5 separate regions of the Homo sapiens genome follow, and regions 1, 2, 3 and 4 are each linked to region 5. Evidence: promoter capture Hi-C in 16 types of primary human blood cells and fetal thymus (Javierre and others, 2016). All regions are on one chromosome and are shown on one strand. The core of a region is centred on a gene start or on the middle of the fragment in contact, and the rest is flanking DNA. Distances in the headings are between cores, read along the strand shown. Region 1 overlaps NUDCD3 (NudC domain containing 3). Region 2 has its middle 40 kb from the start of CAMK2B. Region 3 overlaps NUDCD3 (NudC domain containing 3). Region 4 overlaps NUDCD3 (NudC domain containing 3). Region 5 holds the start of AEBP1 (AE binding protein 1).

The links. The method cuts DNA at HindIII sites, captures the fragments that hold promoters and counts their contacts. A CHiCAGO score of 5 or more calls a contact.
Region 1: a contact is called between a fragment that was not itself captured here and the fragment with the promoter of AEBP1 in region 5, in 1 of 17 cell types (M1 macrophages). The highest score is 5.5, in M1 macrophages.
Region 2: a contact is called between a fragment that was not itself captured here and the fragment with the promoter of AEBP1 in region 5, in 1 of 17 cell types (M1 macrophages). The highest score is 7.1, in M1 macrophages.
Region 3: a fragment that was not itself captured here is called in contact with the fragment with the promoter of AEBP1 in region 5 in 2 of 17 cell types (M1 macrophages and M2 macrophages); the score reaches 7.4 in M1 macrophages.
Region 4: a contact is called between a fragment that was not itself captured here and the fragment with the promoter of AEBP1 in region 5, in 1 of 17 cell types (M1 macrophages). The highest score is 6.4, in M1 macrophages.

The regions. Positions count from the first base shown.
Region 1 is chr7:44,382,873-44,385,572 of GRCh38, reverse strand. NUDCD3 (NudC domain containing 3) reads left to right here. Exons shown (of 6, transcript NM_015332.4): 6 at 1-2,700. Among named protein-coding and RNA genes, the nearest start is that of CAMK2B, 59 kb to the right of the region's middle. The HindIII fragment of the contact is 1,804 bases long and covers 461-2,264 here.
Region 2 is chr7:44,363,940-44,366,661 of GRCh38, reverse strand. No RefSeq gene overlaps it. Among named protein-coding and RNA genes, the nearest start is that of CAMK2B, 40 kb to the right of the region's middle. The HindIII fragment of the contact is 472 bases long and covers 1,041-1,512 here.
Region 3 is chr7:44,403,871-44,406,729 of GRCh38, reverse strand. NUDCD3 (NudC domain containing 3) reads left to right here. Exons shown (of 6, transcript NM_015332.4): 4 at 2,147-2,290. Among named protein-coding and RNA genes, the nearest start is that of CAMK2B, 80 kb to the right of the region's middle. The HindIII fragment of the contact is 2,679 bases long and covers 134-2,812 here.
Region 4 is chr7:44,426,896-44,429,595 of GRCh38, reverse strand. NUDCD3 (NudC domain containing 3) reads left to right here. Exons shown (of 6, transcript NM_015332.4): 3 at 1,893-2,025. Among named protein-coding and RNA genes, the nearest start is that of NUDCD3, 62 kb to the left of the region's middle. The HindIII fragment of the contact is 3,476 bases long and covers 1-2,700 here.
Region 5 is chr7:44,103,044-44,105,743 of GRCh38, reverse strand. AEBP1 (AE binding protein 1) reads right to left here and starts at 1,399. Exons shown (of 21, transcript NM_001129.5): 1 at 826-1,399. The coding sequence starts at 1,078. The HindIII fragment of the contact is 6,426 bases long and covers 1-2,700 here.

The DNA.
Region 1 (2,700 bases), core at 113-2,612, 280 kb before region 5:
AGCTCTGTGCTTGCATGAGGGCAAGCAAGGAATGGCTGTGCCTGAGGCTGCTCTGGGAAACTCCTTGCCCCTTGACCTCTTTTGAGAGCATTCACGTGGTCTTCTTGCTCATCCCCTTATAAATGTGCTTTGCCTGCCTCAGCCTCATGGTCAGAGCAGTGGAGACTGGAGCCCTGTTTGCACGTTCTAGTTGTTCGGAGAAAGCCTAGGTTCTGGGCTCAGGTCCAGATGCAGCGGGGATTCTGTTCTCTGACTGTGGCGACCTTGCTTTGGTTCTTGTTGAAGTGAACCAAGCCCGGCCACCACGCATGGCATGCTGTGCTTGGCTCCCCATAAGACGTCCTCTTTGGGTGCACGGTGTCAAAGTGTGGGCAGGAGTGGAGAGCTGGTGCCCTCAGGAGGAGACCACAGCATGTCCATCAGCTCAGCAGAGCTCGACAGCCACAAGTCCTGAGAAGCTTTGACCTTGAAGGGCTTCTGGGAGAGGAGGAATTTCTGCATGGGGCGTGAAGGCACACTGTCCCACCACAACTGAACCAGAAGAGAGTGAAGACTCCCCTCTTCCCATCCTCTGTGCCAGGTGCCAGACTGTGCTCCTTGGAACTTATGGCCCAATCTTACCTGTTCTCCAGGGACTGGTCACTGCCTCAGGACCCCCAAGCCTATGCCCTGAGCCATGGCTGCTGACTGACTCCAGCCAAGGTGCAAAGACGAGATTATGAGACAGGTCCTCAGGCCTGTGTTCCAAGTACTCACAGGGGCTCTGGGTGCCCATCGCCGGGAGTATGGTTCAGCTGCCACCGGCACTGTCCATTTGCCTGTCTGTCAAGCTCAGAGCATGGATAAGCCACACAGCAGGGCAGTGCACCCTGGCACCATGCACGGCCAGCAAGAATCAAGGCCCGCAGATGCTAAGAGGGCCTATTGTCAGGGGAAGGTCCCCGCTCCTGCACACTCTCTATGGATACTTGGGTTGTGGGGGCTCTCTTGGAGAGTAAGTTTGTGGTTTGTTTCTGGTTTACAGTGGTGGCTGACACCCCTTGTAAGAAAGCATTCCTGGGAAGTCTTCTGTGGGTCCAAACATGTTGCTCCGATCATCACAGGAGAGCAAAAGGCCCTAGATACCCCCTTTGGAATGTGAGAGTCTTGTTGTCTGATATTTGCCACTGAGCTGGTGAAGCCCCTCTAAAGAGATCTCGACCCTGGGGAGCAGAATTCTTGTCATCTATGAGGGGTCCTGAGAAAGACTTGTCATTTTTTTTCCTGGAGTTCTTCCCATTGAGGTCCTAGGATTTGCACACCACTGTCCCACAAGAGCTTTCCTGCCTAATGAAAGGAGGTCTTGTGGTGTGTGTCTCCTCTCTTCTCTATAGTTCCCGAGTTGGCCCCCATTGCAGCCCCCACCCTGTGGGTAGTCTTCCAGAAGTGATGCAGTGGTGTGAGATGCCCTACACCTTGTTATTTGGGAGACTTTGAGAGTCATTCACTTCCATGGTGACTAGTGTTTGTTTTGCCTGATTTTATATTCTGTGTTGCATTTCTCCCCACTCCCTGCCCTGCTTTAATAAACAGCAAACCAATATCTAGGAAGAATGACTGAGGGATAGTATTGGGTATTGGCCCCATGGCAGGAACAGCCACTTGCATCTGGTCCCGGTGCCACACTGCGGTGCTTGGTGTGGTTGTGGAGCCTGTCCCTGCGCGCCTTGCTCCCGTTGAGCCACGCTGTCTGGTGGGTGATTCTCTGCCCTGAGCCACCACCCTGGACTGGCCCAGTCTCCAGAGCTGGCACACCCTGCCTGTTTTCTCTTTTTAGACACAACAGCCGCAGTTTGGCCAGCCACTAAGTCCCACCAGCTGAGGTCCGAGGAAAGCGGGGTGACTCATTTCCCTTGTCCAGGGCCCGAGGAGAGTGAGGTGTCCAGCCTGCAAAGCTATTCCAGCTCCTTGGTGTTGGTTTGCAATAAATTGGTATTTAAGCAGTTCTGGGTCTGCGTGTGACATTTGCTGCTGAGACAGTTCTGTCTGTGCATGGTCATTATTGTTGCATTCTAGCCTTGAGGTCCCAGGCCAACGTACACAGCAAACACCAGCATGGGGAATTCTTAGGGGTTGTTTCCCATCTGGTCTGAATGCACTGGGCAAGATCTCAATACAGCTTTAGAAATCCTGTAAGATTTTGACCAGTGGGGAGAAAAAGAATGTAGCTATAGATCTTACATCCTTTCAAACAGGTTCTGGAATTCTGTAGTTACTGGAAAGCTTAGGGTGAGTGCAGAGTTGGGAATGATTCCACTGAAGGGCCACCTTTGCCCACCAGGCTCCAAGGCCCTCCTTGGTCTCCAGGTGCATACCTGCTGTTAACTTTGCTGAGCCCTCGCAATGGGCTTCCTCCAGGACATAACGCCGTGTCTGACACAGAAGTCTCCCAGGTGGCTGGCCACCTGCTTCTTCCTCAGTCAGATCTTTGACTCTCCTTCTCTGTGCCCACCCCATCTCCAGCCTCCTCTGACCCTGCTCACCCCTGGGGACAGGACCTAGGGGTGTGAGAAGTACTTGGCTGAATAAAGACTGTTTCAAAGGCAATCCTTAGAATTGCCTAGCATACTCCCAGGGCCAGAAATAACCCGCCAGAAAGGAGAGGCGTATTTGCCCCTGAAGAGTGCAGGAGGGAGAACAGTTGAGAAGTGTTTTGTGTGG
Region 2 (2,722 bases), core at 27-2,526, 260 kb before region 5:
CACAATTTGTTTAATGGCCTACCCATTGAAGGACATTTGAGTAGTTTCCAATTTTTGTCTATTACAAATAAAACTGCTGTGAATATTCATATATAGAGTTTTAAAATTGAACATAAAATTTCATTTCTTTAGGATAAATACCCAGGAGTGCAATTACTGGGTCATATGTTTAAGTATATGTTTAACTTTATAGAAAATTGTCAAACTTTTTCAGAGTGCCTCTGCCATTTTACATTCCAACCAGCAATATGTGAGCTCCAGTTTCTCTGCATCCTTGCTCACATTTGGTATTGTGATAGGCAGAAAAATGGCTCCCACAAAAGTCCACATCCTAATCCTCCAGACCTATGAAATAAGTTATGCAAGGGAGAATTTTGGTTGCAGATGGAATTAAGAGTGCTAATTAGTTGACCTTAAGAAAATATTATTCTGGATTATCTAGGTAGACCCAATATAATCACAATAATCCTTTAAATGTGGAAGAAGGAGGCAAAAGAGTGATGTGAAGTGAAAAAGACTCAACCAAGCAGCCATTGCTGGCTTTGAAGGATGATAGCCACAAGCCTCATTAAACTCATTTTGGACTTCTGACCTCCAGAACTGTAAGATAATACATCTGTGGTGTTTTAAGCCACGAAATTTGTGGTGATTTACTACAGTAACACTATGAAACTATTATAGGTACTGTCAGTATTTTTTATTTTGACTGTTCTAACAGGTGTGCGGTGATATCTTATTGTGTGATTTAATTTGCATTTTACCAATGGCTAACGATGCTGAGCATCTTGTCATGTGCTTTTTGCCATATGTATATTTTCCTTGATGAAATGTTGTGTCAAGTCTTTTGGCCATTAAATATCAAGTTTTGAGCATTCTTTATATATTTTAGATAAAAGTCCTTTGCTGGATATGTGATTTACAAATATTTTCTCCTGGTCTATAATTAGTTTGTTCATCCTTTTAACATAGTCTTTTCAGAGCAATAGCTTTTAATGTTGGTGAGGTCCAGTATATCAAATTTTCTTTTTATTCATCAAGCTTTGGTGTCAAGTCTAAAAATACCTTTGATTAGTCCTAGATCTCACAGTTTTCCTCCTATTTTTCTAGAAGTTTTATAGCTTATGTTTTACATTAAGTCTATGATCCATTTTGAGTTAATTTTTTGTATAAGGTGTGAGGTTTATTTATTTATTTATTTATTTGGCTTATGAATGTCCAGTTGTTCCAGGAGCATTTGTTGAAAAGGCTGTCATTTCTCCTCTAAACCACTTTTGCTCCTTCATCAAATATTATTTTATTATTTATTTAATTATTAATCAAATGTTTGTGTAGGTCTATTTCTGGGATCTCTGTTCTATTTCATTAATCTATGTGTCTGCTCCTCTACCAATACCACACTGTCTTTATTACCGTCGCTATATGGTAAGCCCTGACATCATGAATTTTCTTCTTTTTCATACGTTTTGGCTATTCTAGTGTCTTTCCCTTTCCATATAAATTTTAAAATAAGCTTGTCTATGTCTACAAAAAAATCTTGCTGAGATTTGGGTAAGAATTGCATTAAACCAGCTAGGCATGGTGGCTCACGGCTGTAATCACAGCACTTTGGAAGGCTGAGGCAGGAGGATTGTTTGTGGCCAGGAGTCTGAGACCATCCTGGGCAACATGGTAAAACCTTGTCTCTACAAAAAAATACAAAAAATTAGCCGGGCATAGTGGCAAGAGCCTGTAGTCCCAGCTACTCAGGAGGCTGAGGTGGGAGGATTACTTGAGCCCAGAAGGTCGAGGTCGCAGTGAGCCATGGTCGTGCCACTGCACTCCAGCCTGGGGGTGACAGAGCAAGACCCTATCTCAAAAAAAAAAAAAAAAAAAAAAAGAATTGCATTAAACCTGTAGATCAATTAGGAAGAATTTTCATCTGTACTATATTGAGTCTTCCAATCTACAACCATGGTGTATTAGATCTTTTTTGATTTGGTTCATCAGCATTCTATAATATAATTTTATTACATAGATTCAGTACAGGTTTTGTTAGATTTATACCTAAGTATTTCATGTTCTTTGGGTCAATTGTATATGTTTATATGTTTTAAATATATATTTCCTCTTGTTCATTGTCACTTTATATAAGTGAAATAGACTTGTGTGTTGATTTTGTATCCTGTGACCTTACTAAACTCATTAGCTCTAGTAATTTTTTTTTTTTAGGTTCCTCAGGATTTTATTTTCTATGTAGTTAATCATGTCACCTGCAAATAGCACAGTTTTATGTTTTCCTTTCTACTCTTGACACTGTTTATATATTTTTATTTTCTGATTGCAGTGGCTAGAACTTCCATTACTATGTTGAAAAAGAGTGGTCAGAGCAGATTCCCTTCACTTGTTCCAGAACTTAGAGGGAAAGCACTCAGTCTGTCCCCATTAGGTATAATGCTTATAGTAGGTTTTTGATAGATGCTCTTTGTGACACTGAGGAAATTAATCTCTCTTCCTAGTGTGCTGAGAGTTGTTTTTTTGTTTATTTGTTTTTGTTTTGTTTTGTTTTGAGATGGAGTCTCGTTCTGTCGCCAGGCTGGAGTGCAGTGGCGCGATCTCGGCTCACTGCAGCCTCCACCTCTCGGGTTCAAGCAATTCTCTTGCCTCAGCCTCCCAAATAGCTGGGACTACAGGCGTGTTCCAGCTAATTTTTGTATTTTTAGTAGAGACAGGGTTTCACCATGTT
Region 3 (2,859 bases), core at 224-2,723, 300 kb before region 5:
TCACAAGAGGTCAGAGAGATGGCTGTCTGTTCCCAGTGTGACATCTTCACCTGGGACCTCTGGAAGCATTTCTTGTCTGGTTTTCTCCCTTGATGATTTGGTTCATTCCCCTGGGTAGGCAGTGTGAGAAGCTTCCCCAAATTTGGAAATTATTATGTTATATAGAGCTGGGTGGGAGAATTATATTTGTTAAGTGAGCTTGTTCTTGTGAAGGCAGGCTGAGGAGCCTTGGGCCCTCTGTGTCGTGTTTCCATTGCACACAAGTTCATGGTTAGACATGATTTGGCCCAACATGTGTCTGGATCATTTCAGGAGTGAGTGGATCTGTTGTTCCATTTGCTCACGTTCCTCATGGTGTTAGAAGGTAGGGAGTGAAGCTCAGTTGCCTATTGTTCAATAGGACTAGCCAAGTAAATACCCTTTTCCGTGGTAAATTCCCCTATGAAAGGTCATGCAAGTGGAACTGCGATCTCATGAGAGGATGCTTCCTTGGAGTCTGCATGTGAACCTGGCAGAGCCGCCTGTGGTTAGCAGAATATCTTCGCTGTGTCCCCCAGTGGGCAGCCTTCTGCCACCTTCTCCCCTCACTGCATGGCTCAGGAACTATCTTTCATTTAGTAACTATCTGATGGGCTGGATGTGGTGGCTCACATGTGTCATCCCAGCACTTTGGGAGGCTGAGGCAGTAGGATCACTTGGGGCCAAGAGTTCGAGACCAGCCTGGGCAACAGCAAGACCCCTGTCTCTACAAAAAATAAAAATAAAATTAGCCAGGCATGGTGGCACGTACCTGTAGTCCCAGTTACTCGGGAGGCTGAGGTGGAGGGATTGCTTCAGCCCAGGAGTTTGATGCAGCAGTGAGCTGGGATCACGCCACTGCACTCCAGCCTGGGCAATGCAGTGAGGCCGTGTCTCTTAAAGAAAAAGAAGAAAAACTGACAGCGGTGACTCCTGCACATCATTTCTCCCATTTCCATTTTTTATTTACGAATATTTAAACTACAGTTAGGTTATGGTATTGTATTTCATTGGAAATACTAAACTCCAGTTTGGAAAATCTATCAGTTTGGGTTGTCTTTTTTTCCAATCATTTTATAAGCGTTTAATGAGCCATCTACCAAATGACATGGAGAGTAGCTTCCAAATTATTTTTATTCCACATACCTATTAGAAAAAAGTTTTAAGTACTTGATCCCAGTGTCTTCTTAATGCATACATTATACAGATACAAAATGTAAATGGAAGTTCTGTTTTATTTCCTCTTCTAATTACTGACCTGTGAACCTCCTGGGGTATGCATACCCTGCTTTGGAGACTGCTGGCTGGAATACATGATATGAAGTAAAAGGAACCCTACTCCCACAGCTGCCAGTCCAGTTCTGGAGACGGACAAGTGGTGGGGCAGGGATAGGTGTTCCTAGGGCGGTGGGGAAGGCCATGGGGCCAGTCTCTGCCTAGGACAGGCTCAGAGGGAGGAGGGTGAGCTGAGGCTTTTAGAGGCTTGGTTTTGTAAAGAACCAAGACAAAATGCAAAACCATGTGCGAGTGTTGGTGGTATATTGGTGAGCATAGCTGCCTTCCAAAACCAAAGGAGTTGGTCTCATACTCTTGGATGAAGACCAGGCTATAGTCAACCAGGCAGTGCAGTGGCTCATGGAAGGAAGAGGTGGTGCTTGTCTCTTGTACAGCAGTCCTGGGGTGAGCAATTCAGGGTGTGCAGCCCCCTCAGCTTTCTTGGTTGCTGTGGTCCAGGGCTGGGCTCCTGCGTCTCCCAGGTAGCCACAAGGGGAGGCAAGGAAGAAATACCACTTGTCTCCTCTGCTCACTTTTTGCTGTGACAATTGGTCTCCGTTAACTGGAGAAGGGAGAAGAAGATTGGGTCACAGCAGCTTCCACCACAGCATTTTACGTTACCAGTTATGCTGAGAAAGATTTTCTGGTGGATTTACTAAATGAGCTGACATCTTCAGGTTGCTCTAGGTATAAATTAGGCTGGTATGGTTTTCTTCACTGAGATGCCTGGTGAGCCTGATGACAGCGCTGTAGTGTGCAGTCAGGTACCTTGGAAACCATCACCACTCCCACCGTACAGCACACCAGTGGTCACCCTGATAGGAGAGATGATTTTCTTCTGCTGTGTCCCCAGGTCTCAGTGGCCCTTAGCAGCAGCTCCATTCGTGTGGCCATGCTGGAGGAAAATGGGGAGCGCGTCCTCATGGAAGGGAAGCTCACCCACAAGATCAACACTGAGAGTTCTCTCTGGAGTCTCGAGCCCGGGAAGTGCGTTTTGGTAAGTTTGGGCACCTGTGTGTAGGGCTCCCAGGTGGACTTCAAACCTGCAGTGATGCCCCTTTTGACCAACAAGCCTATTTACACTTAAGCAGTGAGGTTGTTAATTTCAGCTGCTGGGGCAGATGGGTTTTCCTGAGCATTTTCCATACTGCTCAGAGATCGTCTCTGTGGGCACTTGAGCTTTGGCCCTTTGAGGTCTTGGTCATTCCCAAGAGCTCCACTGTTCTTACATCTAAGGCAAAAACAAGTAAATTGAAAATGAAAAGCTAGGTTGAATTTTTACAGATGCTACTCTGGAGGGTACAGAGTTAATAAATTCAGAGAATCAGGCTCATTGACCAACTGGCTGTCCTTAGCCAGCTGCTGGTTAGGCATAGCTAAGAGTTCAGGACAGTGAGATTAAGGTGTGACTCCAAATGAACAGCTCACATGTTACCAGTTAGCAGACTCGCTCACAAATTGGGCTGCACGCCTGGGCCAGATCTGTTGGTGGCTCAGCTCCTTCTCCCCTGTGAAAGCTTTGAACCTTGTCAGTGGTGGCTCTGTGCTGGTGCCCAAGTGGAGGTC
Region 4 (2,700 bases), core at 157-2,656, 320 kb before region 5:
ATAACGTACCACAAAATGGCCGGCTTAAACGAAAAATGTTGATTCTTCACAGTTCCTAGAGGGGAAGTCTGAGATCAAGGTGTCAGCAGGGCCATGTTCCCTCTGAAGGTCTTAGGGGAAGATCTTCCCTCTCCTCTTCCAGCTTTAGGTGGTGGCCTGCGGTCCTTGACGTTTTTTGGCCTATAGGCACATCACCCCATTGTCTCCACATGGCCTTCACGTCATCTCTCCAAAGTCCCCCTTTTAAGGACATCAGTCATAGTGGATTAGGGCCCACCCTAATGACCTTGTTGTAACTGCATCACCTGTGTAAAGACCCTGTTTTTATTAAGGTCACATTCTGAGGTCCTGGGGATTAAGATTCCAACATAGCGTTTTAGGGGACCCAATTCAGTTCTTAACAGCCACTATTGCCCAGCCCAGAGGACTCAGGCCGTGGTGGAGGCCCAGCTTCATGCATAGACAGTGTGCAGGGCATACCCACAGTAGGTAAATATGTTCTTGTCTTAGAACTCTGGCCAGAGAAAGCCTGCCCTCTTGAACCACCCCTTCCCAATCCTTGTCTTGTATGTGCATCTATATAGATGTAGATACATGTAGTTTTGTGTTTTCCTGTGTGAACCAGATCATAGTGCACACATTGTTTACAAGCCCATGGGGCCGTCTCCCTGCCAGGTTTTGTCTGCTAATCTCTGAGCAGGCCCTGGAGAAGTTGACTGAGATGCACCTACTGTTGGAATGTTCTGTGTTCATAGCTGCTGCCTTCTCCATGACTAGGCTTTTGTCTGTAATTTAGATCTTCAGTTCACTATAATGGACTTGTGAGTCTAAACTTACATAATGTTTATATTATTAGCATTGTTACATTTTATGGAAAATATTATATTTTATTTTTAACATCAGCTTCTTCTTGGTAGGCCTATCTGTATTTAGTGCTGTGTTTATAACAGGCCTATACAATAAGATTTGCTTGATTGAGTTTTTTAGGCTGTCTCATTAAACATACTGCTTATGTCTTAACAATGATGCATACAATTTTAATGCAGTCCTTTTAGCTGTGATTTATTTACTATGAAAAAATAGAGGCTAGGGGTTGGATTAGGATTGAAGTTTAGCAGCTGCAGGATGAAGTGGTTTTGCCTTTTTTTTTTTTGAGCAGAGTTTTGCTCTTGTTGCCCAGGCTGGAGTGCAATGGTGTGATCTTGGCTCACTGCAACCTGCAACCTCCGCCTCCCAGGTTCAAGCGATTCTCCTGCCCAAGCCTCCCAAGTAGCTGGGATTACAGGCATGTGCTCCCATGCTCAGCTAATTTTTGTATTTTTAGTAGAGACAGGGTTTCACCATGTTAGCCAGGTTGGTTTCAAACTCCATACCTCAGGTGATTCACCCGCCCTTGGCCTCCCAAAGTGCTGGGATTACAGGTGTGAGTCACCACGCCTGGCCTCTTTTTTTTTTTTTTTTTTTTTTTTTTTAAAGATTGACCCTGCCAAGCAGTTTATAAGAAACCAAGGACTCATGAGCCTAAGGATTTTATTAATAAGAGCCCTCTGGTTAATTAACAGGCCTGGATCTCAGTACTGTGAAGGCTGGCAGTACCAGCTATGGTTTGACTGTGGTCACAGACACTTTTCCTAAACTGTAGGATGCTGCACTGGGGTTTCTTTTCTGTAGCTTTGCCCTTGTCCTGTGATTTCCATGGGTACCATGTAGGAGGGTCAGAAAGGAAATCACCTGAAAAGAAGAGGAGTTTGCAGATGCCAGAGCCAGTGAACTTGAGATGAAACTTGAGTTGGTCACGTCTCCAGGATGTAGGAGTGGCATGGGCTAGGCTGCCCATGGGGTCCTCTGCTCAGGCATGGCTGACTGGGATCACATTTTTTATTCTTTCTCAGGATTCAGGAGCAGTTCCAGAAAAATCCCGACAGTTACAATGGTGCTGTCCGAGAGAACTACACCTGGTCACAGGACTATACTGACCTGGAGGTCAGGGTGCCAGTACCCAAGCACGTGGTGAAGGGAAAGCAGGTAATGGCCTTGGCGGGTAGGGGTGGGCGGCTTCACCCAAGCCAGTCAAAGCTGTTGCAGGGAAGACCCACCAGCATCCTTGAGGGAGTGTTGAGATCGGCTTTAGGATGTGAGGTGTGTTCCTTCTCCTGCCCTCGGAATGAGCTGAGCACACCATCCTTGCTCCCCTTATTCTGTTTGTGAGGTTCTCCCAGCTCTTCTGCAGAAACCTCCCTTTGGGGATGGTGAACCCTGTTCACACTGCTTCCTGAGAGAGAAGCCCACACATCTGATGTCTTCACCTCTTTTATAAATACAGCCATAGACTCTCCTGGGGTTCCTATTGTAGATGGCCAGCTTCTCAGTTTTCAAGGGAATACTCAAACATTATTACCTTGGTGAATTCTCTTTTTTCCTAAAGATTAAATCTGCCTTCAGTTTCCCTAAGAAAAGTCCAGTCTACTAAACGCACAGTGATAGCTAACATACATTCACATAGCATCTGTCATGTGAGTTTCCTGGGCTTTGCCAGCCCAGGGTCTAATAAACTCAAATTAGACAAAATGACACAGTGGGTAGCACCTCCCCGTGTATGGTGATGAGCCATGCATCACAGAGATGAAAGGTTTATGATTTAATTCTCCACAACCTTTAATCACAGGAGAGAGCTCTAAGACTCTGCAGTTCTCTCAGGGC
Region 5 (2,700 bases), core at 150-2,649:
CCAGGGGACGCAGGGCTGCTAGAGCGGTGCCCCAGAGCCAGGAGAGCAAGCCTGGAAGGAGAGCCAGAGGCAGGAGGGGCACAGGCAGCCCAGGGTGTGGGAAGCAGCCAGGAAAGATCTAGAGCTGGGGTGGCAGGGGAGGGGCTGCTGACATCAGGAATGTTGGATGGTGCCTTGGAATCTCCTGGGAGACAGGGATCACAAGACCCTCTGCCACCTTCCAGAGGGCCACGATGAAAACAGCTAAGATTTACTGACAACTGATTATGCAAGAGGCCGTGGGTTAAATGCTTCAGTGATGCATCACCTCATCTAATTTCCTGTACTAATGTAGGACCACCCATTGCTCACCACCACCTGAAGCCCTGTGCTCACCACCACCTGAAACTCTCTCACCTACGTGAGACCTCCTGGAGTAGGAGGGCAAAGGCAGGAGGGAGGGACGACGTGAAGCTGTGCCACCAACAGGGAGAGTGGTCCCATTAGTATGGCAGGGGGTGACACAGCACAGTCCCCTGTGGCTCAAGCCTAGTACCTGTCGCGTACTGGAGGAATGGGGATAAGCGACCCGTACAACCACAGCACCAACCCTAGAGCCACCGGCCCCCAAAAGCGGCCCTGCCGCCCGGGTGCTGGATGTGCCTCCACGCCAGCGCTGACCTCGGCCTAGCACAGGGTCCCTCCAGGCATCTGGGCTCGCGTGCGCATTAGTAAGCCAGCCATTCCTCCCCTAGCAGACTGGGGAGTGGCCAGACCCTACCGAATCCCCCTGTTCCCACCTGAGATGCCAGCCCCCCACACCCCCGCCCTGCCCTGGGCTCTTACCTTCTGCGGCCGTCCCTGGCCGCTTCCCTGGCTTGCCCCCCGCCTGGGCTTTTCGGACCCGCGGGGTGGGCTCGGGAGGCGGCGGGGCCTCCACGTCGTCCTCCCGGGGCTCAGGTTCTAGCTCTGACAGGAAGCCCTCGAGGAACTCCTCGATCTCGTCGTCGGTCAGCACCGTCTGCGGGCGCCCTCCAGGGCACAGGGCCAGCAACGCCAGGAGGCAGCTGAGCAGGGGCGCCCCGCGCACGGCCGCCATGGCCGCGGCACGCGCGGGGGGCTCCGGGGAGGGCGCGGGGGGTCAGGGGCTCTGGGTCTCTGGGAAAGGGCGGAGAGGGGATCGAGACGGGTGAGGGAATCCAGGAAGGGGCGGGAGAGAGGATGGGGTGAGCGAGGGAATCCGGGAAAGGGAGGGAGAGTGGATTAGGGTGGGCGAGGGGACCCGGGAAGGGGTGCTGGGGGGCTCCGAAGCCAGAGGGGCTCAGGGGTGGTCGGGGCGCTCCGAGGTCCTGGCGGCTAATAGGCGCTCCGGCCCCGCGTGGCGCACTCCCGCGCGGATAGCCGTCTCCAAAGCGCTGGCGGGGCCCGGGGCGGGGGCGCCGGGGCTTCCGGAGCCGGCTCCCCACCCCCGGGGAGGAGGAGGAGGAAGAGAAGGAGGAGCCGAGAGTGGACGGAGGGGCTGCGGGGGGGCGGGGGGCGGGGGGCGGGGGGCTAGGGGCGGGGCAGGCGGGCGGGCGCTGGCGGCGAGCGTCCCAAGCCCGGAGACTTGCGCCTAGGACAGAGGGGCAGGGGGCGGGGCGACTGGGAAGACAGAGGGCCTGAGGGAAGGAAAGGTGGTGGGGAGGGCCTGGGGTGCGGGTCTGAGGGGGCCGACATCCCTCCTCCTTCTGCCCTAGGCACCCCCCTTAAGGCGGGACCCCGAGTCCACCGGGGCTCTGAGCCCTCCGCGGGTGACCAGGAACCCTGGACGGAAAGCCGTGGTGTCAGGCCTCTGAGACCTCTCTCAATTCGGAGGGCCACAGAAAGGCCACCCCATCCTTCCCAGGCTCTGGAGCCTCTGCCCATGGGCCCTGCTGCATCCCAGCGTCAATTCATTCAGTCATCCTACCAACCTCTTCAGGTCGGTGTGGGGCCGGGCCCCGTGCTGGGCCCCAGGGAGGGACAGCACAGTGGGAACTCACTTTCCAGCCAGGAGGCAGGTGCAAAACTGCCCTCAGAGTGGCCAGCTGCCCCGCTGGGGGTAGGAGTCCCATGTAAGGGCATGCCATCCCTCCCCTCCGGGTCCCAACGTGGACAAATAGCCATTTATCACCTTCTTCTTACCAGAACTCATTTTTTAAAAAGTGTCTACCATACCTCCAGCTGCCACATGGACCCAGAGGGCCCAGAGGACCCAGAAGGCAGGTGGATTGAGTGTCAACTGATCCCAGGATCCATCAGGGATGTGCACCTTGGTGCCTGGTGTTTGCCATAAGGCTTCTCCAGGGCAAATGTTGGCTGCCCTACAACGGCCATCAACAGGCAGAGTGGTCCCATTAGTATGGCAGGGCGTGACACAGCACAGTCCCCCGTGACTCAAGCCTAGTCCCTGTCTCATACTGGAGGAATGGGGAGCTAAGGACAGAGCTCCGAGGACATTCCCCCTTAAAGGAATGAGGACACAAGAGAAAGCTCACAGGTAGTCCATGGGCCAAGTGCAGAGGCAGACAGCCCTAAGCCACGATTGTCTGCGGGGTTTGGCCCCAGTGAAGTAGTCAGGTAGGGAAGCCTAGGAGCCCCTGGGATGATTGACAGGGCAGAGTTTGGACCTGGGGTCAAAAGGAAAGAGGAAAAGTGGGTCAGGAAGCACCTGGGTCCCCAGAGCAGCCCCGAGTGAGTTGG